Regions from separate parts of the Homo sapiens genome. Here all the other regions are linked to region 1. The links are contacts of gene promoters, found by promoter capture Hi-C in blood cells and fetal thymus (Javierre and others, 2016). All regions are on one chromosome and are shown on one strand. The core of a region is centred on a gene start or on the middle of the fragment in contact, and the rest is flanking DNA. Distances in the headings are between cores, read along the strand shown.

What was found. Contacts are between HindIII fragments. The CHiCAGO score rates a contact against its expected background, and 5 or more counts as called.
Region 2: a fragment that was not itself captured here is called in contact with the fragment with the promoter of SNUPN in region 1 in 3 of 17 cell types (naive CD8 T cells, total CD4 T cells and non-activated CD4 T cells); the score reaches 6.2 in naive CD8 T cells.
Region 3: a fragment that was not itself captured here is called in contact with the fragment with the promoter of SNUPN in region 1 in 2 of 17 cell types (total CD4 T cells and naive CD8 T cells); the score reaches 5.2 in total CD4 T cells.
Region 4: a contact is called between a fragment that was not itself captured here and the fragment with the promoter of SNUPN in region 1, in 13 of 17 cell types (total CD4 T cells, erythroblasts, activated CD4 T cells and 10 more). The highest score is 11.3, in total CD4 T cells.

What each region holds. Positions count from the first base shown.
Region 1 is chr15:75,621,380-75,629,287 of GRCh38, reverse strand. SNUPN (snurportin 1) reads left to right here and starts at 3,563. Exons shown (of 9, transcript NM_005701.4): 1 at 3,563-3,622. RefSeq lists an enhancer at 3,195-3,384 and a silencer at 4,035-4,084. The HindIII fragment of the contact is 10,585 bases long and covers 1-5,378 here.
Region 2 is chr15:75,390,825-75,398,732 of GRCh38, reverse strand. SIN3A (SIN3 transcription regulator family member A) reads left to right here. Exons shown (of 21, transcript NM_001145358.2): 13 at 2,237-2,475; 14 at 3,870-4,053; 15 at 5,918-6,491. Among named protein-coding and RNA genes, the nearest start is that of MAN2C1, 26 kb to the right of the region's middle. The HindIII fragment of the contact is 4,847 bases long and covers 2,302-7,148 here.
Region 3 is chr15:75,417,012-75,424,919 of GRCh38, reverse strand. It overlaps SIN3A (SIN3 transcription regulator family member A), which reads left to right. Exons shown (of 21, transcript NM_001145358.2): 3 at 2,097-2,273. Among named protein-coding and RNA genes, the nearest start is that of SIN3A, 31 kb to the left of the region's middle. The HindIII fragment of the contact is 498 bases long and covers 3,065-3,562 here.
Region 4 is chr15:75,441,840-75,449,747 of GRCh38, reverse strand. All of the region lies in intron 1 of SIN3A (SIN3 transcription regulator family member A), which reads left to right. Among named protein-coding and RNA genes, the nearest start is that of SIN3A, 5.9 kb to the left of the region's middle. The HindIII fragment of the contact is 2,544 bases long and covers 1,107-3,650 here.

The DNA of each region.
Region 1 (7,908 bases), core at 2,314-4,813:
GGTTCTTCCCTCTTCTGTCCTCTTTGAATTTTTCTGATTACGTCAAAGAAAAATTCTGTTAGTGTGACTCCTTATCACTTCAACACTTGCTAATCTCTGATTTTTACAAAGTCCCCAGACTTACAGCTTTCTGCAGACATCCATATCTATCTAGCAAGATTATATTAGGTTGGTGCCATTAATTTTAATGGCAAAAACTGCAATTACTTTTTTTTTTTTTTTGAGAAGTAGTTTCACTCTTGTTGCCCAGGCTAGAGTGCAATGGCGCCATCTTGGCTCACCACAACCTCTGCCTCCTGGGTTCAAGCGATTCTCCTGCCTCAGCCTCCTGAGTACCTGAGATTACAGGCATGTGCCACCACGCCCGGCTAATTTTATATTTTTAGTAGAGACGGGGTTTCTCCATGTTGGTCAGGCTGGTCTCAAACTCCCGACCTCAGGTGATTTGCCCGCCTCGGCCTCCCAAAGTGCTGGGATTACAGGCGTGAGTCACTGCGCCCGGCCAAAAACTGCAATTACTTTTGCACCAGCCTATAACATTATTTTCACGTATTTATTTATTTACTTATTTTTGAGATGGAGTTTCGCTCTTGTTGCCCAGGCTGGAGTGCAATGGCGCGATCTCGGCTCACTGCAACCACCGCTTCCTGGGTTCAAGCAATTCTCTTGCCTCAGCCTCCCGAGTAGCTGGGATTACAGGCATGCACCACCATGCCCAGCTAATTTTGTATTTTTAGTAGAGACAGGGTTTCTCCATGTTGGTCAGGCTGGTCTCGAACTCCTGACCTCAGGTGATCTGTCTGCCTCAGCCTCCCAAAGTGCTAGGATTATAGGCATGAGCAATGTATTTATTTTATAGATACCTTCTAATAAAGTGGGAAGTGATTGATGTAAGGTAATGCTATGATGTTGCCCTTTTTTTTTTTTTTTTTGAGACAGAGTCTTGCTCTGACACCAGGCTGGAGTGCAGTAGCGCGATCTCGGCTCACTGCAACCTCCGCCTCCCAGGTTCAAGTGATTCTCCTGCCTCAGCCTCCCGAGCAGCTGGGACTACAGGCATGCGCCACCATGCCCAGATAATTTTTGTATTTTTAGTAGAGATGGGGTTTCACCATGTTGGCCAGGATGGTCTGGATCTCTTGACCTTGTGATCTGCCCGCCTTGGCCTCCCAAAGTGCTAGGATTACAGGCATGAGCCACCACACCTGGCCAATGTTGCCCTTTTAAATAAATGTAGTCAGGCTTTTTTCTTAAATTAATTGATTTAAAGACATAAAGCACAGTGTGTGCATGTGGCCAACATTCTGAAGCTGAGATTCCAGAGGTAGCCCCTTCTGAAACACCCACTGGCTCTAAATGAACCCCTGGGCCAGGTGCTCTGGTTTTTGTTTGTTTTGAGACAGAGTCTCCAGGCTGAGTGCAGTGGCAGGATCACAGCTCACTGCAGCCATGACTTCCTGGGCTCAAGTGATCCTCCCACCTCAGCCTTCCAAGTAGTTGGGATCATGACTCATACCACTACACCTAGCTAATTTTTTTTTTGTGGAGATGGGTTTTTGTCATGTTGCCCAGGCTGGTCTCAAACTCATGGGCTACTTCCACCTTGGCCTCTCAAAGTGGTGGGATTACAGGCATGAGCCACAGTGCCTGACCTGGTTTTGTTTTGTTTTTTCAGTGATATGGGAAGTTATTCAGCTAGGTGTGAGTGAGGAACTAGAACATTTCTCCTGGACCTCCAGGCATGAATTTGGGAACTTCTTTCTCAGTCTCAGTCTATTTTCCTAAAATGTTTAAGGTCTTTATTCTTTTCTATGCAGCCCGACCATTAGATGTGACCTCCGTGGTTGTAAGGGATGGTTGTTTGGACACAAAATACCTAATATCCTGGGTGTCAAAATTCCCTAGTGAAGTCAGGCCCTGGACTTCTCTTTTTTGTCAGTCTCATAAATCAGGCAGACATGAGCTTTTATTTGTGGATGCACCAAATAAATACCCTAGTGGACAGCTTTGCTCAGCCTGGCCACTGAAAGAGCCACCTAAATAAAATCTCAGGTCCAGGCCGGGTGCGGTGGCTCACGCCTTTAATCCCAGCACTTTGGGAGGCCGAGGCGGGCAGATCATGAGGTCAGGAGATCGAGACCATCCTGGCTAACACAGTGAAACCCCGTCTCTACTAAAAATACAAAAAAATTAGCCGGGCATGGTGGCAGGCGCCTGTAGTCCCAGCTACTCAGTAGGCTGAGGCAGGAGAATGGCGTGAACCCGGGAGGCGGAGCTTGCAGTGAGCGGAGATTGCGCCACTGCACTCCAGAGCCTGGGCGACAGAGCGAGACTCCATCTCAAAAAAATAAAAAAAAATCTCACGTCCAGAAAAATTGGCCTTCCAGGGCCCCAGAACCCTTTTTACCAGTCTAGTAATAGCCTTTCATCAGCCTAATTTCCTATTCTTTTTAGTCTGAATGTATGGTGTAATGTGCATAAAATACACAAGTCCAAATTTTAGCATTCCGTGGACGCAAAATGTGCCAAAGGTGGATACTTTGCTTCTGTCATACATCGGTAGTCAACTTCCCTATACATCAAACTTTCAGCAAATTCAAACATTTTCCTTGAAAGCTGTGTTACTTTGGCCAAATTACTTAACCTCTCTGAGCTTCAGTGTGTCTACTTCCTCATGTCATGATTAAGAGTTAATATCTACTGGCTTAAAAAAGAAAAAAAAGGAAAAAAATTAAATGAGATGATGGGTGTGAAGCAGGGATTGGCTGAATGTAAGCATTCAATAAATATTCAGTTTTAAAATTGTAATCTCAGCCTTCCCGCCCTGCAGAGGCTACACCCTGGCAGGACTTAATCTCCTAAATCTCTGCCGCTTACCCTAGTCTTTTGCACCAATTTAATCATTCCTTCACGCAGGGTCTACTGAGCGCCATCCCTTGTGCTGGACTCTGGCTACTTAAATAGGAATCAAGCCAGGTCCCTACCATTGCTCAGCCCGCAGCCGAGTGGGAAAGAAGCTCGCAAAAGCAGCAAACAGGCAGTAATCGAGGTATGTATCTGCTTTTGTTAAGGGCAAGTGGGGGAGCGAAGGTCTGTGTCTGAAACTTGGGTGTGAGGGGTTAGTTGGAGTAATCCAGGCAATTGGCACTGCCCGTTTAAGAGCACGGGCCCAAGAGGGGAAGGGGACTCCAGGTGAAGCCCTAAGGCCCGGGAAGATCTGCGGGAGGCGGCAGGGCCCAGGGCGTTGAATGCCCGGCCACAAGATCAGCCTCCTCCCATTGGCGAAAGGAGCCCCGAAGAGCTTGTGTTCAGGAGGGAGGCCTCGGCCTGGTCAAGTCATCTAGCAGGAAGAGTCCCGGACAGTGCAAAGCAAATGCAAGAAGACCCCCTCCCTAGCCGATGGGAAATGCCCCAGCCGTTGAAGGCGGAAATAACGGCCTGTAGGCAACGGAACTCCCAGCGTTCGCAAAGGAGGGAGGAGCCGGAAACTCAGGGCGCGAGGCCTGTGGGCCCAGCGGTGAGGCAGCAGCTGGGGGCGGGGGGAGGGCGGACCTAGCTTCCCAGGGCAGGTGATTCGTCGGCCCCGGTGGCGGCGGCGCGTGCGACGGTCACCTCGGTTTGGGTGAGTCCCTGGGTTCGAGCCCGGGCCCCGCCAGCTGCCGAGTTGCCTCTCGGTGCCGGACTGTGACTCCCTCTGGCCGGCCCTGCACTCTGGCCTCCTGGGACGTCATCTGGAGGGATAGAGCCAGGCCTGGGACTCCTTTTGGGAGAGTTTCCGTTCTTCTATTCCGTGCTGTCCGGCCAGGACCCCTCAGGGACTTCTGTGGGGCAGGGGCGAATCATGCATGGCCTAGATGACCCCATGCCTAGAAAAAGGCAGTGCGGGGCGGTGGCGGCGCGCACGGCCGAGTGAAGCAGATAGCGTCCCCGGGGCTGGAGCCCGGTAGCAGGGGTAGGGAAACGCGGAGGCTGCCAGGATGCGGACCCAGGGGACGCGAGGCGGGGGCGCCGGATGGGGAGACGCGAAGGAGGGGGAAGGGGATGGGGGAGGGGGCTAGACAGGGAGGGAGGGTGGAGCGTGGGCGGGGCCTGGGGCGGGTCGGACTTTAGGGAGTTGGAGCGGGGGTTACTGGTGCTAAGACCACCTGGGGCTAAGGTCCGAACACTTGGAGGCAGCACCATCCAAGGAATGGGTTGAAACAGCAGGAGCCCGGCGGGGCGCAGTGGCTCACGCCTGTAATCCCAGCACTTTGGGAGGCCGAGGTGGGCGGATCACCTGAGGTCAGGAGTTTGAGACCAGCCTGACCAACATGGTGAAACCCCATCTGTACTAAAAATACAAAAAAAATTAGCCGGGCGTTGTGGCGCGTGCCTGTAATCCCAGCTACTCGGGAGGCTGAGGCAGGAGAATCGCTTGAATCCGGGAGATGGAGGTTGCAGTGAGCCGAGATCATGCCACTGCACTCCAGCCTGGGCAACAAGAGCGAAACTCTGTCTCAAAAAAAAAACAACAACAACAAAGAAAAAACAAAACGAAACAGCAGGAACCCGCCAAGAACAGCCTTGAAGGAAGGTAAAGGAACCGCCCCAGTATCCAGGACATCAGTTTTTCTTTTTTTTTTCTTTTTGAGACGAAGTCCAGGCTGGAGTGCAGTGGCACGATCTCGACTCACTGCAAGCTCCGCCTTACGGGTTCAAGCCATTCTCCTGCCTCAGCCTCCCGAGCATCTGGGACTACAGGCGCCCGTCACCATGCCTGGCTAATTTTTTTGTATTTTTTTTTTTTTTTTTAGTAGAGACGGGGTTTCACTGTGTTAGCCAGGATGGTCTCGATCTCCTAACCTCAGGTGATCTGCCCGCTTCAACCTCCCAAAGTGCTGGGATTACAGGCGTGAGCCACCGCGCCAGGCCCAGGACATCAGTTTCAAAGGTTGTGTGGTTCTTGGCAGAGCGGGAGCCCACACCAAGATAGTGCATGATAGGCCTAATAAAGGTGCTTTGGATTTGGTCATTACTTTGGTGATGAACTGAAAACATAATGACTTTTTAAAAATTTTTATCGGCCGGGCGCGGTGGCTCACGCCTGTAATCCCAGCACTTTGGGAGGCCGAGGCGGGCGGATCACGAGGTCAGGAGATCGAGACCATCCCGGCTAAAACGGTGAAACCCCGTCTCTACTGAAAATACAAAAAATTAGCCGGGCGTAGTGGCGGGCGCCTGTAGTCCCAGCTACTTGGGAGGCTGAGGCAGGAGAATGGCGTGAACCCGGGAGGCGGAGCTTGCAGTGAGCCGAGATCCCGCCACTGCACTCCAGCCTGGGCGACAGAGCGAGACTCCGTCTCAAAAAAAAAAAAAAAAAAAATTTTATCATGAAAGCTTTCAAACTTACACAAAAGTACAGAAAAGTAGAGACAATAGCATACATACCATTATGGATGATTTGAATAACATACCATATGGATCCCAAGCACTCATCATGAGGCCTCAGTCACTCAGGAATGGCAACCCTTGGTTGCATTGCAAAGATATTAAGGCACACCTCAAGCCGGGTGCAGTGGCTCATGCTTGTAATTCCAGCACTTTGGGAGGCTGAGGCAGGCAGATCACTTCAGGTCAGGAGTTTCAGACCAGCCACGCCAACATAATGAAACCTCTTCTCTACTAAAAATACAAAAATTAGCCGAGCATGGTGGTGCATGTCTATAATCCCAGCTACTCAGGAGGCTGAGGCAGGAGAGTTACTTGAACCCAGGAGGTGGAGGCTGCAGTGAGCCGAGATCACACCACTGTAGTCCAGCCTGGGAGACAAAGTGAGACCCTGTCTCAAAAAAAAAAAAAAGGCCGGGCGTGGTGGCTCACACCTGTAATCCCAGCACTTTGGGAGGCCAAGGTGGGCAGATCAGGAGGTCGGGAGATCGAGACCATCCTGGCTAACACGGTGAAACCCCGTCTCTACTAAAAAATACAAAAACAAAATTAGCCGGGCGTGGTGGCGGGCGCCTGTAATCCCAGCTACGCGGGAGGCTGAGGCAGGAGAATCACTTGAACCTGGGAGGCGGAGGTTGTGGTGAGCCAAGATCGTGCCATTGTGCTCCAGCCTGGGCAACAAGAGTGAAACTCTGTCTCAAAAAAAAAAAAGTTTCTTTTATGTTTAAAGGTTACAGAGGTTCAGTTATTCAAGATAAAAGGAGTTCTGGAGAGTTCTGCACAGCAGTGTTGAACATACTTAACTTTACAGAACTGTACACCTACAAATGGTTAAGATGATGAATTTCATGATATGTGTATTTAGCCACAATTTTTTTTTCTTTTTACAGACAAGGTCTTGCTATATTGCCCAGGCTGGCTTCGAACTCCTGGGCTCAAGCATACCTCCTGCCTCAGCCTCCAGAGTAGCTGGGACTAAAGGCAAGCACAACTGCACCTGGCAAACCACGATTTTTAAGTTCCTTTTAAATTAAACAAAATCTAATGTTTCAAATCAAGAAAAATATCTGACTTCACTTGTGCAATGGAAAGTAACTCACTGGCCAAGTAGAGGCCTATGGAGTTGTATTTTTCACTGTAGAGGCTCTGGAATGAACCTGTTGATTTTGATGCTCAGAGCACTGGACCTGGCCTGGGATGGAGGTTAAGCACTGGAGGTGCCCTCTGGTTTACACTAGAACCAAAGGGCTGGGCCAGCCCAGCAGTGCAAGTCAGATTTCTCCCAAATGTTCCTGTTTTCTTATAATCTAAGGCTCACAGGCGCTTGAATGAAGTGTGAATTCACCTTTCTCCCCACTCCCATTCTTTAGGGTCCACCTAAAGTGGGAAGTCTGTTTTCAAAATGACATCTACTCCATGCCTGTCTTGTTTCCCTAATGTACTTTATGGAAGTTCTTCACACTACTGGAGCATTGACGTTACTTGTTAAGCAGCCTTCCACATCCTAGCTCTTTTCCAAGTGAGTCCCACATAAGTAGCCCTGAAACCTTCTTTCTGCCCACCCAAAAACAAAACACAACTAGAATATGAGGAAGTAACAATCAGATTTTTTAAAAAATAAATTATAATTTAAAATAATTTTTTACTTTTTTATTTAAAAAGTAGAGACATAGTCTCACTACATTGTCCAGGTTGGTCTTGAACTACTGGCCTCAAGTGATCCTCCTGCCTTGGCCTCCCAAAGTGCTGGGATTACAGGCATGAGCCACCTGTAATCCCAGGTCGCTAGAGTTTGTTTTTTTGTTTGTTTGTTTGTTTGTTTTTTGAGATGAAGTCTTGCTGTGTCGCCCAGGCTGGAGTGCAGTGGCACGATCTCGGCTCACTGCAACCTCCGCCTCCCAGGTTCAAGCGATTCTTCTGCCTCAGCCTCCCGAGTAGCTGGGATTACAGGCGCCTGCCACCACATCCAGCTAGTTTTTGTATTTTTAGTAGAGACGGGGTTTCACCATGTTGGTCAGGCTGGTTTCGAACTCCTGACCTTGTGATCCACCCACCTCGGCCTCCCAAAGTGCTGGGATTACAGGCATGAGCCATCGTGCCTGGCGAGTTTGGGGTTTTTGATTGCTTTTGTCTTCCTCCAGGGACCCTAGAACCAGTGTTTCCTCTGGAATTAAATTTTCATAATATGAGTTGGCACTTAGTTGAGAATTAAATAACCAATTGAATAAACTGCATGGAGAGTTATATTGGTTAATGAGTGATGGCTATTCAGGAAACTGTAGAGGAACTGCTCAGAAAAGGCCGGGCGCAGTGGCTCACACCTATAATGCCAGCACTTTGAGAGGCTGAGGAGGGAAGATTGCTTGAGCCCAAGAGTTCAAGACTAGCCTAGGCAACATAGGGAGATCCCGTCTGTACCAATAAATTTTAAAATTGGCTGGGTGTGGTGGTGTATACCTGTAGTCTCAGTTACTGGGGAAG
Region 2 (7,908 bases), core at 3,476-5,975, 230 kb after region 1:
TGGCCTGATTGGCTCCTTTTGAAAGAAGGCTAAATTAGGGACCCCTTTCTTTTTAAAGACAGAGTATTGCTCTGTCAACCAGGCTGGAGTGCAGTGGTGTGATCTCGGCTCACTGCAACCTCTGCCTCACGAGTTTAAGCCATTATCCTGCCTCAGCCTCCCAAGTATCTGGGACTACAGGTGTATGCCGCTACACCCGGCTAATTTTTTTTGTATTTTTAGTGGAGATGGGTTTCACCATGTTGACCAGGCTGGTCTTGAACTCCTGACCTCAAGTGACCCACCCGTCTTGGCCTTCCAAAGTGCTGGGATTACAAGTGTGAGCCACTGCGCCTGTCCCAGGAGCTTTATTTTGAAGTAATTAGGAAGGGAAGAGTGGAGTGAATAAATGAGGTGGTAGAAGGCCCCATACCACCTATATCAGGAGAGGGACTACTGAAAGTGGGCTCAATCCTCAGTGTGTTTATATGTCTGGTTTACATTATCATTTTTAAAAAGGGAAGTCTGGTTTGTCTAAAGATGTAAAATGATACGTATCCTATTTAGTGTATCTGTTACATTAAATTGACTGGCTGTGCTTACTTGTGTGGATAGGTATCTTGCTGGTTTTTGTTTGTTTGTTTGTTTGTTTTGGTACTCTTTTAGCTCTTTGCCAGTTTTCCCGCCTCACACTTGGTTCAGCAGTTTCTGGTGTGTTTTTAATTGAGAACCACATGCTGCCTGGCCACTGGCAGGTGGTTGGCCATCTTTGCCCCAGCATTTATAAGGAGTTGCACCTATTTGCAGAAAGCTAAATCAAGACAGATGTTAACTTCCATAGGGAGTGTTATCAAGCTAAAGAAGGCATTTCTTTGTTACTTACGTTTAGTAAGGTTAACTGATGAGTTTAGCAGAGCTTGGCATTTGTTTTTGACAGAGTGTTCCTATCCTCTCTCAGCTGGTATGCCTCCAAATGAGAGGCAACTTCATTTCCCATTTGTGACTACAAGGGCAAACATGAAAGAAGTGGGGTGTGCATGTGTTTAAGATTTGGTGGGATGAGCTAGTTTGAAGGAATGTGCGTTACCAATCAAGATAGGTTAGTAATGCCTCAGTACAGACAACTCCCACATCTGAGTGACTTGTAAAACCAATGGGTTTAATTTCTAATCATTCTACATGTACATTGATGTTTAGCAGGGGATTTGGCATATCAGAATTACTTGGGGATTCAGGCCAAGGGATTGCTGCCATTATGAATGTTGCTAGTCACTAGGAGGAAAAGAGAGCTTGGAATGATCTCACACCTTTAAATGCTGCAGCCTAGAAGTAATAAACATTACTTCTACTCATCTCATAACAACTCATTGGTCAAAACTAGTTACATGGCCCTATCCAATCATAAGGGAGCCAGGAAGTTTAGTCCATTTTTTGTTCATAATTGGAGAGCAAGAGGGGCCAGAAATATTGACCAAATGACTACCACATTCCCAAAACAAGAAAACTTAGGGAACACTTCTGCAAACAGTTGGTTGTAGACCGTTGAGACTGCTCATTTACTTCATTTTCTGTTTCTCATTTAGAGAACCTTATTTTAAGCTAGGGAAAAAGTAGACTCAAAGGTTGCCAGGAGTCCAATAAGAATTTAAATGGTTACCCGCAGCTACAACAGTGAACTCCTTAAGTTATGATAGTCACTGCTCTTATTATTACTGGATGTGGAACAAGGCTATTGAATATTTAAGTATTTGAATATATTTAAATATTTCAAGTTAAACCAAAAAACTCTCAAGACAAAGCGGTCTTTTGGGATTGTTTTGATTGTTATTGTTTGTTCATAATGGATCTTAGCAATTCAGGAAAGTTCAGGGAAACGTTTCAGTAAAGTCATCTCCTGTTTGGTTCCTCTGGTCTAAAATCAGTAGTCCTAAGCAAAGCACACGGTGGTGGTGGCGGCAGCAGCGACGGTGGTGGTAATAACTACCATTTATCCAACTTCATCCTGTGGTTCTTATGTGCCAGGTATTGTGCTAAATACTTTATGTGGATTGTATCATTTAATCCAGACACAGGGTTGTGAGAGTAATAGGTGCTGTTATCCCTATTTTGCTGATAAAGAAACAGTCTTATGTAGCTAGTAGGGCAGAACCAGGATTCAAATCCAAGGAGTTTGACTCCCTACCTTATTCTTCTAAACACTACTCTATTCTATTTTGATTTGGGTCCTGAGCATACCCTTCTTTGTCTTCCTCTTCAGCTTGATGTAGTTTTAGAGACCAATCTGGCAACAATCCGGGTTCTGGAAGCAATACAGAAGAAGCTTTCCCGCTTGTCTGCTGAAGAACAAGCCAAATTTCGCTTGGACAACACCCTTGGGGGCACATCAGAAGTCATCCATAGAAAAGCACTCCAGAGGATATATGCTGATAAAGCAGCTGACATCATTGATGGTCTGAGAAAGAATCCCTCCATTGCTGTTCCAATTGTCCTTAAAAGGTACATGAGCAAATGTGCCCTTAGTGCTTTAGTGTACTTCACTACCGGTTCAGTGTCTCATTAAATAAGGCTCTCATTTTCAACCTGGTTGTCCCATGAGACCTCTCTTTCTCCCCAACCCTGGTTGTTGGAATTCAGGTGCAGAATGGAACTTCTTTTGGGGGTCCTGTGTAACCAACATTAGAGAACAAATCTTGTAAGTTCATGGTGGAAGGCTCTGTGTGTATGTTTGGGGGAGTATTTTAAAATACAGAAAAGAAAAGAAGATAATTACCACCCATGTTCCTGCCACACTCAGGACTAACTGTTGTTAACATCTTTGTGGTTTGTTTGTTTTTGTTTTGTTTTGTTTTGAGACAAGATCTCACTCTTTCACCCAGGCTGGAGTGCAGTAGTGTGAACACAGCTCACTGCAGCCTCAACTTCCCAGGCTCAGGTGATCCTCCCACCTCAGCCTCCCGAATAGCTGGGACTACAGGAATGTGCCACCACACCCAGCTAATTTTTATTTTATTTTTTTTAATAGAGATGAGGTCTTGCTATATTTCCCAGGCTGGCCTCTAACTCCTGGGCTCAAGCAATCCTCCTGCCTTGGCCTCCCCAAAGTGCTGGCATTACAGGCACAAGCCACACCACACCCAGCCCCATGTCATTATTGACCACACTGTGAATCCTTTGTTAGGAGCTTGGTTCTCTCTCAGTATCATCTGGTAAAAATTAATTCTTATTTGCTGCACAGTTCACAAATACCCAGATTTGATTTGTCCTCCCTCATCTTCCCCTCAAGAGCTGGCACAGATTGATGGTTTCTTCTCCCTCATCTTCCCCTCAAGAGCTGGCACAGATTGATGGTTTCTTCTTCTTGCCTGTAGCATTTAACTTCTGGCTTTTGAGATACAGGTTATTCTTCAGTTTTAGTGCTTTTTTTTGTCTTAGTCTGTTCTCTTCTGGGTTATTAGAATCAGTTCTGATCAGAACTTTCCTGACTGTATCCAGAGGAACATAACTGTGCAAGTTCTCTTGTCTTGGACTTCTGTGTTTCTATTAGCATTGTGAACGTTTTGCAAAGTCCTATAGCAAAGAAACAAGAACTCTTTTTTTCAAGGAATACTTATACCTGAAAGATATTCCCTGGAATGCTGTTTTTAAGTAACCATTCTAGGTAAATTATTTGACTTTGAGATAAATCATTTCCTCAAAGTAAGTCTTGGATGAGTAATTCCCTCATGAAACAGAGTTCAAGACTGGTTTGATAGCATCCCAAGTTGCCAGTAATTTTGAGAGACCTAATATAGCTTTGCACCTTTCTTTAACTAAAGTAAGCCTGGCAAATTTCTTTCTTCTAAACCCTCTGAATTCCCATGTGTTGTTTCCATCCCTTCCCGCTTCACTAGGTTGAAGATGAAAGAGGAAGAATGGCGAGAAGCTCAGAGAGGCTTTAACAAAGTATGGCGAGAACAAAATGAGAAATACTACTTGAAGTCTCTGGACCACCAGGGGATCAACTTTAAACAGAATGACACCAAGGTCCTGAGGTCTAAGAGCTTACTCAATGAGATTGAGAGTATCTATGATGAGGTGAGCGGGGGGTTTCTGCATCTGTGAGAGGACTCTAGTCTATATTTAGCACAGCTTTGATTTCTGGAAATTACCTTTGTTAAATGCAGGTGAGACTCTCTAAGACCTGTTGATTCTTGCTTGATAGCTGTCATAGCCTTTTCTATTCCTCATTCTACCATTTTAAATCTAAACTATACCTTTATACCTAAGCTGTTTGACTAGTTTCCTAGTTTACTGTCCTGGTTTCAACTTATACCTCCTGCCTCCATTTTCCACTTCTCCGACTACCTGTTTCCTTCAAACAATAATACCTTGTATCCATATAGTCCCATCTCTCCTTACTTACAGCTTCAAAATTTGTCATTGACCACCAAACTCTTTGTAATCCTTGCTTATTCAGCATGCCTACCAGGACTATAAATAGTACTAGGAGCTAGGATCAGAGATGAATAAGCAATAAATCCTGGTTTCCGTGGGCTCAGTTTTAGGAGATGGATAGAAACATAAATGCAGTGCAATTGGGAATTCCTGGAGTGGGGTGATCCTGAACTTTAAAAATAGTAAAATGAGCTCTTATGTGAACTTAATCAGGCCGGGCACAGTGGCTCATGCCTGTAATCCCAGCACTTTGGGAGGCTGAGGCGGGCAGATCACCTGAGGTCAGGAGTTAGAGACCAGCCCAGCCAACATGACGAAACCCCGTCTTTACTAAAAATACAAAAATTAGCCAGGCGTGGTGGTGTGCACCTGTAGTCCCAGCTACTCGGCAGAATGAGGTGGGAGAATGGCTTGAACCTGGGAGGTGGAGGATGCAGTGAGCTGAGAACATGCCACTGCACTCCAGTCTGGGTGACAGAGCAAGATTCCGTCTCAAAATCAATAAAATAAATAAACTTAATCCTCCATATTTTGCTGATGTTACTTTGTCACCCTCCATACCCCCACCCCAGAAGTAAAGTAAATCACAGATCTCATATCATATCCTTTATATAGATACTAATCCAGAATTTTGAAAGATAGTCCCACTGGGCACAGTGGCTCACGCCTGTAATCCCATCACTTTGGGAGGCTGAGGTGGACAGATAACTTGAGGCCAGAAGTTCGAAACCAGCCTGGCCGACATGGTGAAACCTCATCTCTACTAAAAATACAAAATTAGCCTGGCATGGTGGTGCACTTCTTAATCCCAGCTACTCAGGAGGCTGAAGCATAAGAATGGCTTGAACCCGGGAGACGGAGGTTACAATGAGCCAAGATTGCTCCACTGCACTCCAGCCTGGGTGACAGAGCAAGACCCTGCCAAAAAAAAGAAAGAAAGATGGTTCCAATTCTGTCCTACTCTCCCTGTAAGTCATCAGTGTGTAGAAGGTACCTGTATTTTGACATCAAACCACGTCTCTGTCATTACCTATTTGTTTCTGGAAGAGGGACAAAAATTATTGTTATAGTCAGGTCCTAAGTTTTGTTTTGAGACAGAGTCTCACTCTGTTGCCCAGGCTGGAGTGCAGTAGTACGATCTCGGCTCACTGCAACCTTTGCCTCACGGGTTCAAGTGATTCTCTTGCCTTAGCATCCCAAGGGCTGGGATTACAGGCACCTACCACCATGTTCAGCTAATTTTGTTATTTTTAGTAGAGGCGGGGTTTCACCATATTGGCCAGGCTGATCTCAAACTCCTGACCTCAAGTGATCACCCTCCTCGGCCTACCAAAGTGCTGGGATTATAGACGTGAGCCACCGCTCCCAGTCCCAGGTCCTAAGTTTTTGATTAGAAAAATATAGACACTGTGGTTGATAATGGGATGTATGGCTGATGTGGTCTTGTAGACATGTTGTCGCTGTAGACATCTCACAGAATACTTTTGTGTCTCTGTCCCATCAGAGGCAAGAGCAGGCTACGGAGGAGAATGCTGGTGTACCTGTTGGCCCACACCTCTCACTTGCGTATGAAGACAAACAAATACTGGAAGATGCTGCTGCTCTGATTATCCACCATGTGAAGAGGCAGACAGGCATTCAGAAGGAGGACAAATATAAGATAAAACAAATCATGCATCATTTTATTCCAGATTTGCTCTTTGCCCAAAGAGGTGATCTCTCAGATGTGGAGGAAGAGGAAGAAGAAGAGATGGATGTAGATGAAGCCACAGGGGCAGTTAAGAAGCACAATGGTGTTGGGGGCAGTCCCCCTAAGTCCAAGTTACTGTTTAGTAACACAGCAGCTCAAAAATTAAGAGGAATGGATGAAGTATACAACCTCTTCTATGTCAACAACAACTGGTATATTTTTATGCGACTGCACCAGATTCTCTGCCTGAGGCTGCTACGGATTTGTTCCCAAGCCGAACGGCAAATTGAAGAAGAAAACCGAGAGAGAGAATGGGAACGGGAAGTGCTGGGCATAAAGCGAGACAAGAGTGACAGCCCTGCCATTCAGCTACGTCTCAAAGAACCTAGTGAGTGCCGAGACCTCTGATTTACAGAGGATGTGTGAGGTTGAGGACCTTAGAGCCACCTAGACTTGGGACTGCTTCTTTTATTAATAGAGCACAGGCATTAGAGTCTGTGTAGTTAAACTCTCTGAACCTGTTTATCTGAAAAATGGAGGCTCTAGTTGCTTGTGGTGTTGCTTTGTGCAAAGTATCCTATGCAGGGCTTAGATCATGGACACTTGGTCAGTGGTTGGTACTGTGGACGCACCTGGGAAGGGGGTATCACAGTTAATTTCTCAAATGGCAGATTTCTGGGTTACTGCCATCTGTTTCAAAGTACAGATAGAGACTAAACTGTCACAGCCAATTTCAATCCATGACAGAACATAAATTCCTAGTGCTTAAAACAGAATTTTCTCATATTTTTGAGCAGGACTTCTGTTTAACCAGTGGGGTTTATGGCTCATTCTTAATATGTAGAAATAGTTTATGGAAAGGAGACTGGAACTCAAAAGGTGATATGAGACATGGAGAACAGGCAGGACAGGGATAAAGATGTAGAACTCAGGAAAAGGAAAGTAAGTGAGGGTTCAGGACGCTGTCATGTGCTTTATGTAATTTTGTGCTGCCTGCTTCCAGTTCACGTCATAAATTAGGTACTTGAGCTGTGAGCCAAAAGCTTTTTCATGAAGCATTTCTTCTGGGCTCTTAAGGAAATAGCCAACCTGAGGAGTGTATCTTCTTCTTCTTTTTTTTTTTTTTTATGTGTTGCTGATGTAGGAAGCCCAGATATGGCCCTAGCTTTCTATCTGTTGAGGAGCTAATGACACTGAAAAATAATTCTGAAAGCTTTTATCTAGACTAGTCCTAGCTCGAAAGAGATAAATTTTAGATCTCATTGTGGTGATTCCATCTACTTGGGTAGAAATTAGAAATTAAATGGCCTATTCCTGGCTTGGCCACTGACTTAACCTGGTTTGAGGCTTACATAATGTTGTCTTGTCTGATAATGCCAACCCTCACACTTACCACAGCTTGTTTGGACAAATCTGTGGTTTGGACTCAAAACTTTATTCTGGCATAAAAGCAGTTTTCATAGCAGTGGTATATTTTGGAGTCTATAGCCTATACCTATTCTATGGAGCTAAAGAATGTGATAGTCTGTGATGAAACTCAAGCCAGTTGCCTCTTTTAAACAGTATTTGTCCTGTTTTGCCTGTTTTTTAATGAATTCGTCAGACTTCAGATAAATGGAGACAACTTGGTTTTGCTCCTAGCCTTTTTTCTCCAGCACAAACACAACTAGCAAGTAACCAATTAGTCAGTGACAAATAGTTCGTTTTGTAACTTTTTTCATTTTAGTCAACTTTTTGTTGAAGTGCAATGTATAGGCCGGGTGCAGTGGCTTACACCTGTAATCCCAGCACTTTGGGAGGCCGAT
Region 3 (7,908 bases), core at 2,064-4,563, 200 kb after region 1:
TCATTGTTGAAGTGTGGCTTAAAAATGGCTAATCTGTATCCTTTGTTACTAGTTTGTAATGGCATAAGTATAGAAATTGTTTAGAAACTATTAGAGCAATTGGACATGATCATTTTTTATTTGTAAAATCCAGTAATGAAAGTTACAGGCTGGGCACAGTGGCTTACGTCTATAACCCCAGCACTTTGGGAGGCCAAGGCAGGTGGACTCCATACCCAAGAGTTCAAGACCAGCCTGGGCAACATGTTGAAACCCTGTTTCTACAAAAAGTACGACAATTAACCAGGCATGGTGGTACATGCCTGTAGTCCCAGCTACTCGGGAAGCTGGGGTGGGAGGATCATCTGAGCCTGGGGAGGTCAAGGCTGCAGTGAGCCATGATTGTACCACTGCACTCCAGCCTGGGTGAGAGAGCGGGACCCTGTCTCAATAAAAAGGTAAGAAAAAAAATTACGGGTTTATGTATTTTTGTTGTTTTGTTTTTTGAGATGGAGTTTCACTCTTGTTGCCTAGGCTGGAGTGCAGTGGCGTGATCTCAGCTCCCCGCAACTTCCACCTCCCTGGTTCAAGCAATTCTCCTGCCTCAGCCTCCCGAATAGCTGGGATTACAGGCATGCGCCACCATGCCTGTCTAATTTTGTATTTTCAGTAGAGATGGGGTTTCTCCATGTTGGTCAGGCTGGTCTCGAGAACTCCCAACCTCAGGTGATCCGCCCACCTCGGCCTCCCAAAGTGCTGGGATTACAGGCATGAGCCACCACGCCCGGCGGGTTTATGTATTTTTTATTTCACTTTCATAGTAATTTATTTTTATTGGATTTTTATAAAAGTTGTGGTCCCTGATGGATTGAAATTTTAAGAAAAAAACTCATCCTTTACCACAGACAGTTTGAGATAAACTATATAATTTTTTTTCTTCTTTTTGGAGACAGAGTCTTGCTCTGTTTTCTAGGCTGGAATGCAGTGGCATGATCTCAGCTCACTGCAACCTCCACCTCCCAGGTTCAAGTGATTACCGTGCCTCAGCCTCTCAGTAGCTGGGATTACAGATGCGTGTTACCACGTCCAGCTATTTTTTTTGGTATTTTCAGTAGAGACAGGGTCTTACCATGTTGGCCAGGCTGGTCTCAAGCTCCTGAACTCAAGTGATCTGTCTGCCTGGGCCTCCCAAAGTGCTGGTTACAGGTGTGAGACACTGTTCCCAGCTAAACTATATATATATTTTTTTGTTTGTTTGTTTTTGAGATGGAGTCTTGCTTTGTCGTGCAGGCTGGATTGCAGTGGCACGATCTTGGCTCACTGCAAGCTCCGCCTCCTGGGTTCACGCTATTCTCCTGCCTCAGCCTCCCGAGTAGCTGGGACTGTAGGTGCCCGCCAACACGCCTGGTTAATTTTTTGTATTTTTAGTAGAGACGGGGTTTCACCATGCTAGCCAGGATGGTCTCGATCTCCTGACCTCGTGATCCGCCTGCATTGGCCTCTCAAAGTGCTGGGATTACAGGCATGAGCCACCGTGCCCGGCTATATAATTTTTAATAGCTACAAATAATTTTGTTATAACTTTGGTGGGCTGTAATTTATTTAACCAGTTCCTTTTGTGGAAAATTTGGGTTTCTTTCTTTTTCTTTTCTTTCTTTTTTTTTAGAGACGGTCTCATTCTGTCACCTGGGCTAGAGAGCAGTGGTGTGATCACAGCTCACTGCAGCCTTGAACTCCTGGACTCAAGCAATCCTCCTCCTTTAGCCTCTGGAGTAGGTGGGACCACAGGTGCATGTTGCCATGCCTGGCCAAGTTTTTATTTTTTGTGGAGATGGGTGTCACTATGTTGCCCAGGCTTTCTTTTCTCTTTTTAGAGACGTGGTCTCACTCTGTGGCCCAAGCTGGAATGCAGTGGCATGATCATAGCTCACTGCAGCCTTGAACTCCTGAGTTCAGGCGATCTTCCTATGTAGGTGAGATAGGTGTGAGCCATCACGCCCAGCAGAAATTTGGGTTTCCAATTAATTATCTTTGTGCATTTGTGTTAGTTATTTAGACTCATTTGGGGAAGAATGTACAAGCCTTGAAGTTTCCTGTCTGTATTTTGTTCACCCCAGGTTTCAGCCATGCCACAGAGCTCCGGCAGTCATGGGCCCGCTATAGCAGCAGTTCATAGCAGCCATCATCACCCAACAGCGGTGCAGCCCCACGGAGGCCAGGTGGTCCAGAGTCATGCTCATCCAGCCCCACCAGTTGCACCAGTGCAGGGACAGCAGCAATTTCAGAGGCTGAAGGTGGTATTCAGCTCTTTTTCTTGGGTCAAAAAATTTATCTTTAGCAGGAAATACTGGTTGCAGCTTGTTGGTTGTGGTGGTACAACTTCTAACCTGAGATACTAGCTGTCGAATCACAAGTTTTACCGTTTTTGTTTTGTGAAATTTGCTTATGTTTCCTATCTTGGCATCAGTGCCTGATCCAGAGAAGAATATACTCAAATGTTTGTGGACTGTATGAATGCATGTCGGTCAAATGTTATCAGGATTGTGGGGCCATTTTAATACAAAATAAACCTTAAAATTCATTTTTTGGCTGCTTCCTTTTGAACTCTCTATTGAGCACATATATGATTGGCTACAGGTTAGTACAGTAAATTGGCCCAGTAATATATCTTACAGTTCAATCTTTTTAAATTCTTAAAAATTTTTTTTTTTAGTTTTTAGTTTCAGAGATGGGAGTCTCACTGTGTTCCCCAGGCTGGTCTCAAACTGCTGGCCTCAAGTGATTCTCCCATCTTGGCCTTCGAAAGTGTTGGGATTACAGGTGCGAGCCACTATGCCCAGCTCATGCCTGTAATGTTCTTATTACCTTTATCTTTTTATTCCTGTTTATGAATAGCTGAATTGACTCACATCATCAAGTCCATTCTTAGTAAAACACATGCTCCTTTTTGGGGGGAATCTTTATAAAGTTCAGGGAAAACTGTAACTGTGAATGAATTATCAGTGTTTTCATATTTTCTGCTGAGTATGTGTGGTACGTTTTCAGTGCTTTGAAATTCATGAGGCATCCCTGGAGAAGTGAAGCTTGTGTTCCCAGCTAACCTTGTATCTCTGACCACTTGAATGTTACTTTTCAAAATATGTGATTGTTGCAGCAAGTGTTCAGGTTTCAATTTTTCTAATTTTACGTTTATATAAAATTAAGTTCAGGAAATAATAAATGGAGGAACTCTGAAGAGATGTTAAATCTTCATTTGGTTATTGCAACCTACTTATGTTGCTTGCAGGCACGAATGAGAAATAAACCCTCTAAGGACATATCCATATGCAGCAAATAGTTGTTTCTTCTGTTTTCCCTGATACTTACTTTAGTTCTTCTTGATCCCTGCCCTCGTTGGTGTGGATTCTTGGGAACTTGTTTAATATTGGCCTAAGAGTATTAAATGCTACATAAATATTATAAAGTACAGCAAAGCTATGTGATTTAGAGTAATTTTGTAAAATTTACTCTCTATATTGGCTTACATAGTATTGACTAATGCATAGCCTTTTAAAGAGAGTACAGGTTTTTTAGGCCTGAAGCTTCACTCTGGATTCTGTCTTTGGGAAAATGTGTATAAGGAATATTGATGTTTCCTTTAAAACATTTTCAGTCTGTTGTAGAGTGATGGCTGTGTACCAAAATGTATTATTGCTGCGGGCTTAGCACTTTACTAAGTCCTGAAAATATTTTTTTTAAAACTTGGTTGTGCGTGATTTAATTCTGTATTAACACTGTATATTCAGTAGTTATACTTTAATGTTGCAAAATAGCTTATAAACTTGCTTATTAAACTAACAAAAACATATGTATTTCTATAGCCTTTTTCAATCAACCCTATCAAAGCACAACACCAGTTTTTACCCACCTTCCTCACAGGACTCTTTGGTATAAGTATATGGATTATGTTTTGTTTGCTTTATGGAAACTGGCAAGGAAACAAGGAAAGGTTTTGGATTTGGGGTTATAGAGTGAGTCATAGATAGAGTTAGGATTTCTTGTTGTGTTCTTTTAGTCACAAGCTCTTGACTATATTCCTGCATAAAATAACTTGTTGAATTTCCTTTCTGATGAGGAGAGGTAAAATGCTTCTTGTACCTCCATGTAATTTAACTCAGTATTCCCACATTGCCTGTCATTTTTGGATCAGTCTTAAAATGCATTACAAGCATTTGAATCAACTTCAATAAATCATTTATATTCTATAATAATGTAGGCCGGGCATGGTGGCTTACACCTGTAATCCCAGCACTTTGGGAGGCCGAGGTGGGTGGATCACCTGAGGTCAGGAGTTCAAGACCAGCCTGACAAATGTGATGAAACCATGCCTCTACTAAAAATACAAAATGAGCCAGGCATGGTGGCGCATGCCTGTAATAATCCCAGCTACTCAGGAGGCTGAGGCAGGAGAATCGTTGGAACCCAGGAGGCAGAGATTGCAGTAAGCCAAGATCATACCACTGCACTCGAGTCTGGGCGACAAGAGTGAAACTCCGTCTCAGAAAAAACAAACAAAAAAAAAGAAATGTTCAGTGAGAATGCTTACACATTATTTCAAGCCTCAACATTGTCTTTTTTTTTTGTTTTTTGTCTTTGGTAGATTGGTGGTGACAAGAAGGGATTTGAACGATTTGAGGCATGTTTGGTGTTATTTAGTTATTGAATGTCAGCAGCAGTGATATTTGGTACATATTTAGCAGGTTATCTTTACAGTTGCTTGTGTTTTTCTCTCCCAACAAGATTGTAGACTTCAGGAGATTCGGGGCCTTAATAGTAAATCCCTGTTGAAGTGAGCTAAGAAACTTTATCAGCAGAGTCTAAGGGTCTCCCCAAGTGCTTCCTTAAATCTGTAGCTTCTAAATAACTACATCCAAGTTTTTTTTTTAAGTTGTGCTACCTAGAACTGTATACATGCATTTATAGAGAGTTTATATAAGAGTTGGACTATGCTTTAGGTGATGAGAGAATTTCCTCACTATTTTTACATGTAGGTGTCTTATTTATTATGTGAGTGTCATGCAGAGTTTTTAAAGCATAGGATTATTCTATAACTTTTATTTTACTTTTTTGTTTTTTTGAGACAGAGTCTCACTCTGCTGCCCAGGCTGTAGTGCAGTGGCGCCATCTCAACTCACTGCACCCTCCCCTGCCTGGGTTCAAGTGATTCTTATGCCTCAGTCTCCCAAATAGCTGGGATTACAGGCATGCACCACCAAGCCTAATTTTTGTATTTTTTTTTTTTTTTACTAGGACGGGGTTTTTCCATGTTAGCCAGGCTGCTCTCAAACTCCTGGCCTCAAGGGATCCACCCTCCTTGGCCTCCCAGAGTACTAGGATTACAGGCATGAGCCACCACACCTGGCCTATAACTAATTTTTAAACAGTGGTTTGCTTGGTTTGCTGTGACTTTCAGTACCTTTTTGTTTCAGACATATACATATCACACATAATTGCTTTCTTTTGGGTTTCTGTACTTTTTCCGTCTCTGCAGTAGTTACCTTATACCATACCATGTCTTATTGATAACTGTTCTTTTGTTGTGTAATGATGCATGCTATTCTTAAATATCTTCCAAAGTCTTGGTTCCTTTTGCAAACTTAATATATTTTGTGTTCACTTAAGTTGGTCATTAATGAAACATTTTAGTATGGAAAGTTCAGAATATGAATTAAAATAGTCCATTGAATTTCAACAGAAATTGTCATGATATTTGTATAGAAAAACTAACCATCAAACAAGTGGGTATTGACCAACTATACAATCTGATTTCTAGCAACACCGAAACACTGATTAACCATGGCCGTAATGGAAGTCTGAAGAACTCTTAAACAGCCATTTGTCTCGGGGCCGGGTGCGGTGGCTCACGCCTGTAATCCTAGCACTTTAAGAGGCCGAGGCGGGCAGATCACGAGGTCAGGAGATCGAGACCATCCTGGCTAACACAGTGAAATCCCGTCTCTACTAAAAATAGAAAAAAAAATTAGCCGGCCGTGGTGGCGGGCGCCTGTAGTCCCAGCTACTTGGGAGGCTGAGGCAGGAGAATGGCGTGAACCCGGGAGGCAGAGCTTGCGGTGAGCCGGGAAAGCGCCACTGCACTCCAGCCTGGGCGATAGAGCGAGACTCTGTCTCAAAAAAAACAAAAACAAAAAAGCGGCCATTTGTCTCAATCCATTAGTGCTGCTATAACAAAATACCTGAGACTGTATAATCTAAATAATAGCAGTTTATTTCTCACAGTTCTGGAGAAGTTCTGGGGGCTGGGAAATCTAAAATCAAGGTGCTGGCCGGGTGCGGTGGCTCACGCCTATAATCCCAGCACTTTGGGAGGCTGAGGAGGGCAGATCATTTGAAGTCAGGAGTTCAAGACCAGCCTGGCCAACATGGTAAAACTACCGAAGATACAAAAAAATGAGCCAGGCATGATGGCATGCACCTGTAATCCCAGTTACTCTGGAGGCTGAGGCACGAGAATCGCTTGAACTCAGGAGGTGGAAGTTGCAGTGAGCCGAATTTGTGCCACTGCACTCCAGCCTGGGTGACAGAGTGAGACCATGTCTCAAAATAAATAAATAGGCCAGACGCAGTGGCTTACGCCTGTAATCCCAGCACGTTGGGAGGCCGAGGCGGGCGGATCACGAGGTCAGGAGATTGAGACCAGCCTGGCCAACATGGTGACACCCCATCTCTACTAAAAATACAAAAATTAGCTGGGCGTGGTGGCAGGCGCCTATAATCCCAGTTACTCAAGAGGCTGAGGCAGGAGAATCGCTTGAACCCGGGAGGCGGAGGTTGTATTGAGCTGAGATCGTGCCTTTGCACTCCAGCCTGGGAGACAAGAGCAAGACTTCATCTAAAAAAATAATAATAATAATAAATAAAATAAATAATAAAATAAAATCCAGGTGCCAGTTGGTTTGGTGTCTGGTGAGGGCCTGAACTCTGTTTTTCGAGATGGTCCCTGAATGTGTGTCCTTACACTGGAAGGGAGAAGGGCCGAAGGGACTAACACTGGTTCACTCCAGCCCTTTTATAAGGTCCCTAATCCCATTCATGAGGGCTCCACAATCACTTTCTGAAGGCCTCACTTCTTAATATCATCATATCGGTGATTAAGTTTCGATGTAAGAATTTTGTGGGACACATTTCAGACCACAGCACCAGTTAATGATTGACTTGAATGTAAATGTTCCATTTTGCAACAAATCAAAAGACTATCTATGCCTGGCCAGGTGTGGTGGCTCACATCTGTAATCCCAGCACATTGGGAGGCTGAGGCAGGCGGATCAGTTGAGGTCAGGAGTTCAAGACCAGCCTGGCCAACATGGTGAAATCCCATCTCTACTAAAAATACAAAAAAATTAGTTGGATGTGGTGACATGCGCCTGGAATCCCAGCTACTCAGGAGGCTGAGGCAGGAGATATCACTTGAACCCAGGAGGCAGAAGTTGCAGTGACCCGAGATTGCGCCATTGCACTCTAGCCTGGGAGACAAAATGAGACTCCCATCTCAAAAAAAAAAAAAAGAAAAAGACTGGCTTAAATCACATCAAATGTTTATTTCTGAAATTTCTTAAACCTGATATTTTGTATAATTTTAAATATTTAGGCTTCAGTTAAACTACCAAAATAAAACTTAACGTATCTCAGAGTAAATAGGAAACACCTAGTGGGGATTTCTTTTGGGTGTCTCTGTCCTAAATCAGACTCATAGCTTAGCCTTTCCAACCTGTTCTTCTTTGTGATAGGTCAGTTTTTTTTCTCCCCCAGCCAAACTGTATCCAGCTTTAAAGATACTTTCCAAAAACAGTCATGGTATTTCAGGCAGAACATGGACAATCCTTAACAATGAGCTACCAAAAAAAAAAAAGCCACTATAAAACCCAGTGAAGT
Region 4 (7,908 bases), core at 1,129-3,628, 180 kb after region 1:
ACTATAGGTGAAAAGTCTTTTCTTTTTTATTTTATGTACTTATGTTAGACCATCTAGACCACTTTCTATTTATACTCTACATAGTACAGTGTTGTTGCCCTTTTTATTTCAGAGGAGGGTGGAATTGTGGATCAGGGTAGCCTTCTGTATGTGACTTCTGTAGCGTTGCCCTCCAGCCTGTATTGGAGAGTTGCCTTAGGGCATTTCAGATTTAGATAGCAGAACCACATTAGATGAGGTTTTTGCTTTCACTTGATACATTATCTTTTCCTATTGAGAGAAATTATTTCAATGTTTTTCACATTTTTCATGAGAAAAATAAACATGGAACCAATGTTTATTTATGCAGTAATGTCTAAATGAGCCTCTGGTTAATTATCTGAAGTGAAATTCTAGATTTGTGCTTTGGTTAGTAGGGCCTGAGTGGTACCCTGTGCTATATTTATGTGAAAAGGGTAGGTGGGTCCTACCTTCTCTGCTAAGGAAGTTGCAAAAGCAATAGCATTTTAGTTTAGCAAATGATGGCTGTAATAGAATTGGTGGGGAGACAAAAAATCCAGGTGGTTTTTTCTGATGCCATAAACTGAGAGAGATAGTGGAGAACGATTGACCATTGAGGAAAATTTGGGCTACATATATAGTTCCCATGATTTGCAGTGCTGTATACTGGGGAACACAGAAGAGTCTATAAGGATTCAAGTAAGAACCTGGTTTTGCTGTATTAGGAACATTTTCATAAATGCTTCATAATCTCCAGATAATTATTTTATATACTATAATTTTGTTCAGAGATAAATAGCTTAGAAAGATTGGCACTTCGTAATTAAGAGGGTTTTAATAATTTACATACAGAGAAAGACTTTTTTTCTTTTTTAAGGAAGGAGGTGTGTAGTAATTTGACAAGATTCCTGGTGAAGTATAATTCTTTTTACATCTTCAGTGGGAGCAGACAAGACACTGGAGAGCTGTGCATGGCAGATGTTAGTACCTGGGAATTTTAACTGGAATTAAGAGGTTATATCCCTGGCATTCAGTAGTTTAGCATAGTGCTTTTCATGGCTTTCTCTCTTTTCTGGGCAATCCACCAGCCAAGAGTTTGTTAAGCTTTACTTTCTGTAGGCCTTTAAAAAAATAAATAGTATATGCTTTTTCAAAATACACCTTCCTCGCCCCTTGAAAAATAAAAGCTGATATTTATTGAGCACTTACTGTGTCACAGATACTGTGTTAGGCACTAGACTTTTTTTTTTTTTTGAGATGGAGTCCTGCTCTGTCTCCCAGGCTGGAGTGCAGTGGTGCAATCTCAGCTCACTGCAACTTCCGCCTCCCGGGTTCTAGCGATTGTCCTGCCTCAGCCTCCACGAAGAAGAAGCTGGGGCGCCACCACACGCCTGGCTAAGTTTTGTACTTTTGGTAGAGGCAGGGTTTCACCATGTTGATCAGGTTGGTCGCAGACTCCTGACCTCGTGATCCGCCCGCCTCAGCCTCCCAAAGTACTGGGATTACAGGCATGATCCACTGCACCCGGCCGCATAATGTCTTTTTTTCTCATGTCTTTTTTTTTTTTTTTTTAGACGAAGTCTCGCTCTGTCACCAGGCTGGAGTGCAGTGGCATGATCACAGCTCACTGCAGTGTTGATCTTCTGGACTTAAGCGACCCTCCTACCTTAGCCTCCCATGTAGCTGGGACTACAGGTGTGTGCCACCACGCACCTGGCTAATTTTTTTTATATTTTTATAGAGGTGAAGTCCTGCTGTGTTGCCCAGGCTGGTCTCGAACTCCTGGGCTCAAGAGGTCCTTCTGCCTCAGCCTCTCAAAAGTGCTAGGATTAAGACGTGAGTCACCGTGCCCGGTCATGGGTGGCAATTTCTACCTGATGTATTTCTTATTTGCCCCTTTTGCTTTTGTTTTCCCTACCCACTTTTTGTCTTGTATGCTTGTATGTTACCCATATTTCTCAGCATGACAGTGGACCCTTCATGAGTCTTCTTGGTGTCCTCCAGGGCTAGGCTTGCTGACATATGGGCTATTGGAGGATATGCAGGTCCACATCCTTTATTTGCAGTTCTGAAATGCAAGAGTTTTTGTTTTTTGGTAAGTCTAGTTCCACAACTAGTTTTGGGGTACAGCCTGACCTGGGCTATCCTGCATGATGCAGAAATGTGACTGCTTGATTATGGGGAGCTACTCAGCCCTAGCTGGGAGAGAGAGATGATACAGTATATGTACCATATTACCTTTCTAAAATCCAAACAATGCTGATGACTCTAACGGGGATCTCTCCCTCTACCATAGACTAATATGTTTAGTGGCCCACTCAAGGTCTCCACTCGATGTCTCCTCTTGGATAACTAAGAGACATTGTTGACTCTTCTGTGTCTTTTTCATATGTGGTCCATCAGTAAATTTTACTGCTTTATATTCAAAATACTATCCAGAATTAGACCACTTAGGATCTGCATCTCCACTGCCCTAGTCAGTGCCTGTGCATCTCTAGCTTGGATTCTATTCTCCTTGTTTTGTTACTGCGGCTCTTAAATGTGTTCTCAACATAGCAACCCAAGTGATTCTTTTGAAACCTAAGTCATACCGTGTCACTTCTCTGCTTAAAACCATCCAGTGGCTTTCCATTTCAGTCTGAGTATTAAACCTGAGTCCTTATTTAGATATGTCTGTAATGAGCTGGGCGCGGTGGCCCATGCCTGTAATACCAGCACTTTGGGAGGCTGAGGCAGGCGGATCACGAGGTCAGGAGATTGAGACCATCCTGGCTAACATGGTCTCCACTAAAAAAAATACAAAAGAGTTAGCCGGGCATGGTGGCACACGCACCTGTAGTCCCAGCTACTCGGGAGGTTGAGGCAGGAGAATGGTGTGAACCCGGGAGGTGGAGCTTGCAGTGAGCCAAGATCGTGCCACTGCACTCTAGCCTGGGCGACAGAGCGAGACTGTCTCAAAAGAAAAAAAAAAGGATATGTCTGTAATTTCACCATTTTGGGAGCTCAAGTGGGAGGATCGTTTGAGTCCAGGAGTTTGAGACCAGCTTGGGCATCATAACAAGACCCTGTCTCTATAAAAAAATTAAAAATTAGCCAAGCATGCTGGCGCGTGCCTGTAGTCCCAGTTACTTGAGAGGCTGAGGCAGGAGGATTGCTTGAGCTCAGGAGCTTGAGGCTGCAGTGAGCCATGACTGTGCCACTGCACCCCAGCCTTGACGACAAAATGAGACCCTGTGTCAAAAAATAAAAAAACACCTGTAAGAACAAATCTGATGTACCCTCTGCCTGCCACCCTTATCCTAGTACCTCTCTGACTACATTTCTGACTAGTCCTTCTTTCGTTTTTCTTCAGCTACCCAGCCTTCATGCTGTTTTGGAACATGTCAAGCACATGTGAGCCCTCACAAAGACATGAGGGTCTTTGCGGTTGCTGTCCCCTCTGCCTAGAAGGCTTCCTCCACTAATTTCTGCATGACTAGCTCCCTCACTTCCTTTACTCAGAAGTTACCTTATCAGTAGGTATTATCTGACCATTCTTATCTACAATTTCAAAAACTCTTCCTTGCCTTTTGTTCTTGATACCTGTCACTGCCTACTATTCTAAATATTATACTTTGTCTATTGTGTCATCTTTCACTAAAATATAAGCTTCTTGAGGGAAGAGATTTTTGTTTACCGTTGTATCTCCAGCTCCTAAAACACCTGGTGCATAGTATGTGCTCAGTAGATATTAGAGAATGTATACATGAATGAATGATTTGGTTTCCACCACAGACAAGACAAAGCAGTATGCTGAGCATGGTAGAGGATACATAGATGGTTAAAGATGTTATGTGCCCATGTTTGTGTGGGAGCAGAAGAGCTAATGTGATAAAAGCAGTGTGAGATGTGAGTGACACTTCCACCTGTCCTTTCAAGAACTATCTCAAGTTCTATTCTTTGTAATGCTCTATTTTCTTTTCTTTCTTTCTTTTTTTTTTTTTTTTTTCTTTTTTTTGAGACAAGGTCTCACTGTGTTGCCCAGGCTAGAGTGCAGTGGTACTATCTCGGCTCATTGCACACACACACATACACACACCCAGCTTCAAGTGATTCTCCTGCCTCAGCCTCCCGAGCAGCTGGGATTACAGGCATGCGCCACTACACCCAGCTATTTATTTATTTATTTATTTATTTTGAGACGGAGTTTTGCTCTGTCTCCCAGGCTGGAGTGCAGTGGTGCAATCTCGGCTTGGCACAATCTCAGCTCACTGCAACCTCCACCTCCTGGGTTCAAGTGATTCTTCTGCCTTAGCCTCCCGAGTAGCTGGGATTACAGGCACCCACCACCATGCCTGGCTAATTTTTTTTTTTTTTTTTTTTTTTTTGAGACAGTGTCTCGCTCTGTCGCCCAGGCTGGAGTACAGTAGCGCGATCTCAGCTCACTGCAATCTCCCCTTCCCAGGTTCAAGCAGTTCTCCTGTCTCAGCCTCCTGAGTAGCTGGGATCACAGGCGCCACCACCATGCCTGGCTAATTTTTTGTATTTTTAGTAGAGACAGGGTTTTACCACGTTGACCAGCCTTGTCTTGAACTCCTGGCCTCAGGCAATCCACCTGCCTTGGCCTCCCGAAGTGCTGGGATTACAGGCATGAGCCACTGCACCTGGCCTTATAGATATTTTGAAAGATTATATTTCTTATATTAAATAGAGATAGGGTCTTACCATGTTGCTCAGGCTGGTCTTCCTGGACTCAAGCAATCCACCTGCCTCAGACACCCAAAGTGCTGAGATTACAGGTGTTAGCCACCATGCCTGGCCTAATACTTAATTTTTAAAAAACTTTTTCTTTGGAAATAATTTTAGACTTCAAAGAGAGTTGCAAAAATAATACAAATAATAGCCCTATAATCTTCACCTAGATTCCCCAAGTGCATCTTTTAAAACCACAATACAGTGATCAAATCAGAAAATCAACATTGATAACAATTATTAATACATTTTGAATTTAACTAAATTTCTGTTCATTTTCTACCTACAGTAGTAAGAAATGTCTGGGTAACATCAGTGTCACCGAAGTCTGTATTGCCCAGATTGGTCTCAAACTCCTGGGCTCAAGCAGTCTGCCCACCTCGGCCTCCCAAAGTGCTGGGATTACAGGCCTGAGCCACTGCACCTGGTCTGGACTCAATTTTAGTTTTTGAGTTTTGCTTTTTTTTTTTAAAGCAGTACTAACTACTTGTAAAGATGTATATTTCATGACTTTTATTTATTGGAGGTCTTCAAAACAGCAAAGAGAAAATTTATTTTTATTTTTAATTTTATTTTTGAGATGCGGTCTTGTTCCATCCCCAGGCTGGAGTGCAGTAGCGCGATCTTGGCTCACTGCAACCTCCGCCTCCTGGGTTCAACTGGTTCTCCTGCCTCAACCTCCCGAGTAGCTGGGATTACAGGTGTGTACCACCATACCCAGCTAATTTTTGTATTTTTAGTAGAAATGGGGTTTCACCATATTGGCCAGGCTGGCCTCAAACTTCTTATCTCTCGAAGTGCTGCGATTACAGGCATGAGTCACCATGCCCAGCCTGAAAATTTATTTTTTTTCCAAAGGAATAAACTCATTTTAGCTATTACCACTTGTACATCGAAACAATGTTGTGGAGTTTTACTGATCTTATTTTTCCTGTATATTGAAATGTTTTGGTATTTCATCATCCTAGGAATTATTTCATCATTACTCATCAATTCTCAAATATGCTAAAGAGGACTAAAATAATATGACAAAGGGAGAATTATAGAATTGCTTAAAAGGATATGCAGTAGTGAAATAAATCATTAGTTTTACACTTCAGTTTTTAGAGATGGGGCCTCGCTTTGTTGCCCAGGCCGAAGGGCAGTGGTATGATCATAGCTCTCTGCAGCCTCAAACTTCTGGGCTCAAGTGATCATCCCTCCTAAGCATCCTCGGTAGCTGGGACTATAGGTGTGCACCGCAGCCCTTCAGTTTTCTTATTGCTTTTCCCAAAACTTACAGCAACTTTTTTTTTCTTTTTGGATACAGGGTCTCACTCTGTCACCCAGGCTGGAGTGCAGTGGCGCAATCTCAGTTCACTGCAACCTTCGCCTCCCAGACTCAAGCAATCTCACCTCAGCCCTCCAAGTAGCTGGGACTACAGGCATGTGCCACCACACCTGGCTAATTTTTGTATTTTTTTTGTAGAGAGAACGTTTCGCCATGTTGTCTAGGCTAGTCTCGAACTCCTGGGCTCAAACAATCCACCCACCTTAGCCTCCCAAAGTGCTGGGATTCCAGGCATGAGCCAGCATGCCCAGCCTACAGCATCTTTCAAGAAAGTATAAAAGAAGTTGGGAGATACCATCTTAAACATTATGTAAGATGTTAACATTTGGAGAATCTAGGTGAAGGAGTACATGGTAATTTTTATACTATTTTTCAACTTTTAAGCTTTCATTGGACATATTTAAAAATCCATAGTTTTTCATCTTCCTCCTATAATGGCAAAGAGAAGAAAACTGACTACAGAAGACATTTCAGAGGAACTAGTAGATGAATGCTGTGTGACAGTAGTACTCTAGACTGTTAGGATGACGGTAAAGTTATATAAACCAAGTTGTAAAATAAGAGTCTTCAGCCAGGCATGGTGGCGTGCACCTGTAATCCTAGCATCTCGGGAGGCTGAGATGGGAGGATCACTTGAGCCCAGTACTTCAAAACCAGGCTGGGCAACATAGCAAGATTCTGTCTCCACCCATATACATATGTGACTGTACCCTAGATGAGTTTAGAATGTGATTTTTTTTTTTTTTTTTTTTTTGAGACAGAGTTTTGCTCTTATTGCCCAGGCTAGAGTGCCATGGCACAATCTCGGCTCACCGCAACCTCCGCCTCCTGGGTTCAAGGGATTCTCCTGCCTTAGCCTCCCAAGTAGCTGGGATTACAGGCATGTACCACCATGCCTGGCTAATTTTTTGTATTTTTAGTAAAAGATGGGGTTTCTCCATGTTGGTCAGGCTGGTCTTGAACTCCCAACCTCAGGTGATCCACCTGCCTTGGCCTCCCAAAGTGCTGGGATTACAGTCGTGAGCCACCATGCCCAGCGGTGAATTTTTTTTTTTTTTTTTTTTTTTTTAAAGATGGGATCTATCTCACTATGTTGCCCAGGCTGGATTTAAATTCCTGAGCTCAAGCTGTTCTCCTGCTTCAGTTCCCCCAAGTAACTGGCACTATAGGCATCCAGCTAGAATGTGATTTTCTTTTTATAAGAATCAGAACTGGGCTGGGTGCAGTGGCATATGCCTGCAATCCCACCTTCTTGGGAGGCTGAGGTGGGAGGATCGCTTGAGCCCAGACGTTCGAGACCAGCCTGGGCAACATAGTGAGACCCCATTTCTATTTTTAAGAAATGAAAAAAAAAAACAATCAAAACCACTGCACTTTGCCAAAAAGATGTATGATAGTATTCTTTCATCTTTCAAGATATTTGTACACCAAAACTTAGTTGATGCAGTTTGTAAGTGGACAGGTGCCAAAGTTACGTATATGTATAAAGATGGTTAGAAGGAAAAATTATGTAAAAATGAAAAAAAAAATCAGTTTTTTTTTTTTTTTTTTTTTTTTTTTTTTTTTGAGACAGAGTCTCACTCTTGTTACCCAGGCTGGAGTGCAGTGGCATGGTCTTTGCTCACTGCAACCTCTGCCTCCTGGGTTCAAGCGATTCTCCTGCCTCAGCCTCCCGAGTAGCTGGGACTACGGGTGCGTGCCACTGCACCCAGCTAATTTTTTGTAGTTTTGGTACAGATGGGGTTTCACCGTTTTAGCCAGGATGGTCTCAATCTCCTGACCTCGTGATCCACCCGCCTCGGCCTCTGAGAGTGCTGGGATTAGAGGCAAGAGCCACACGCTCAGCC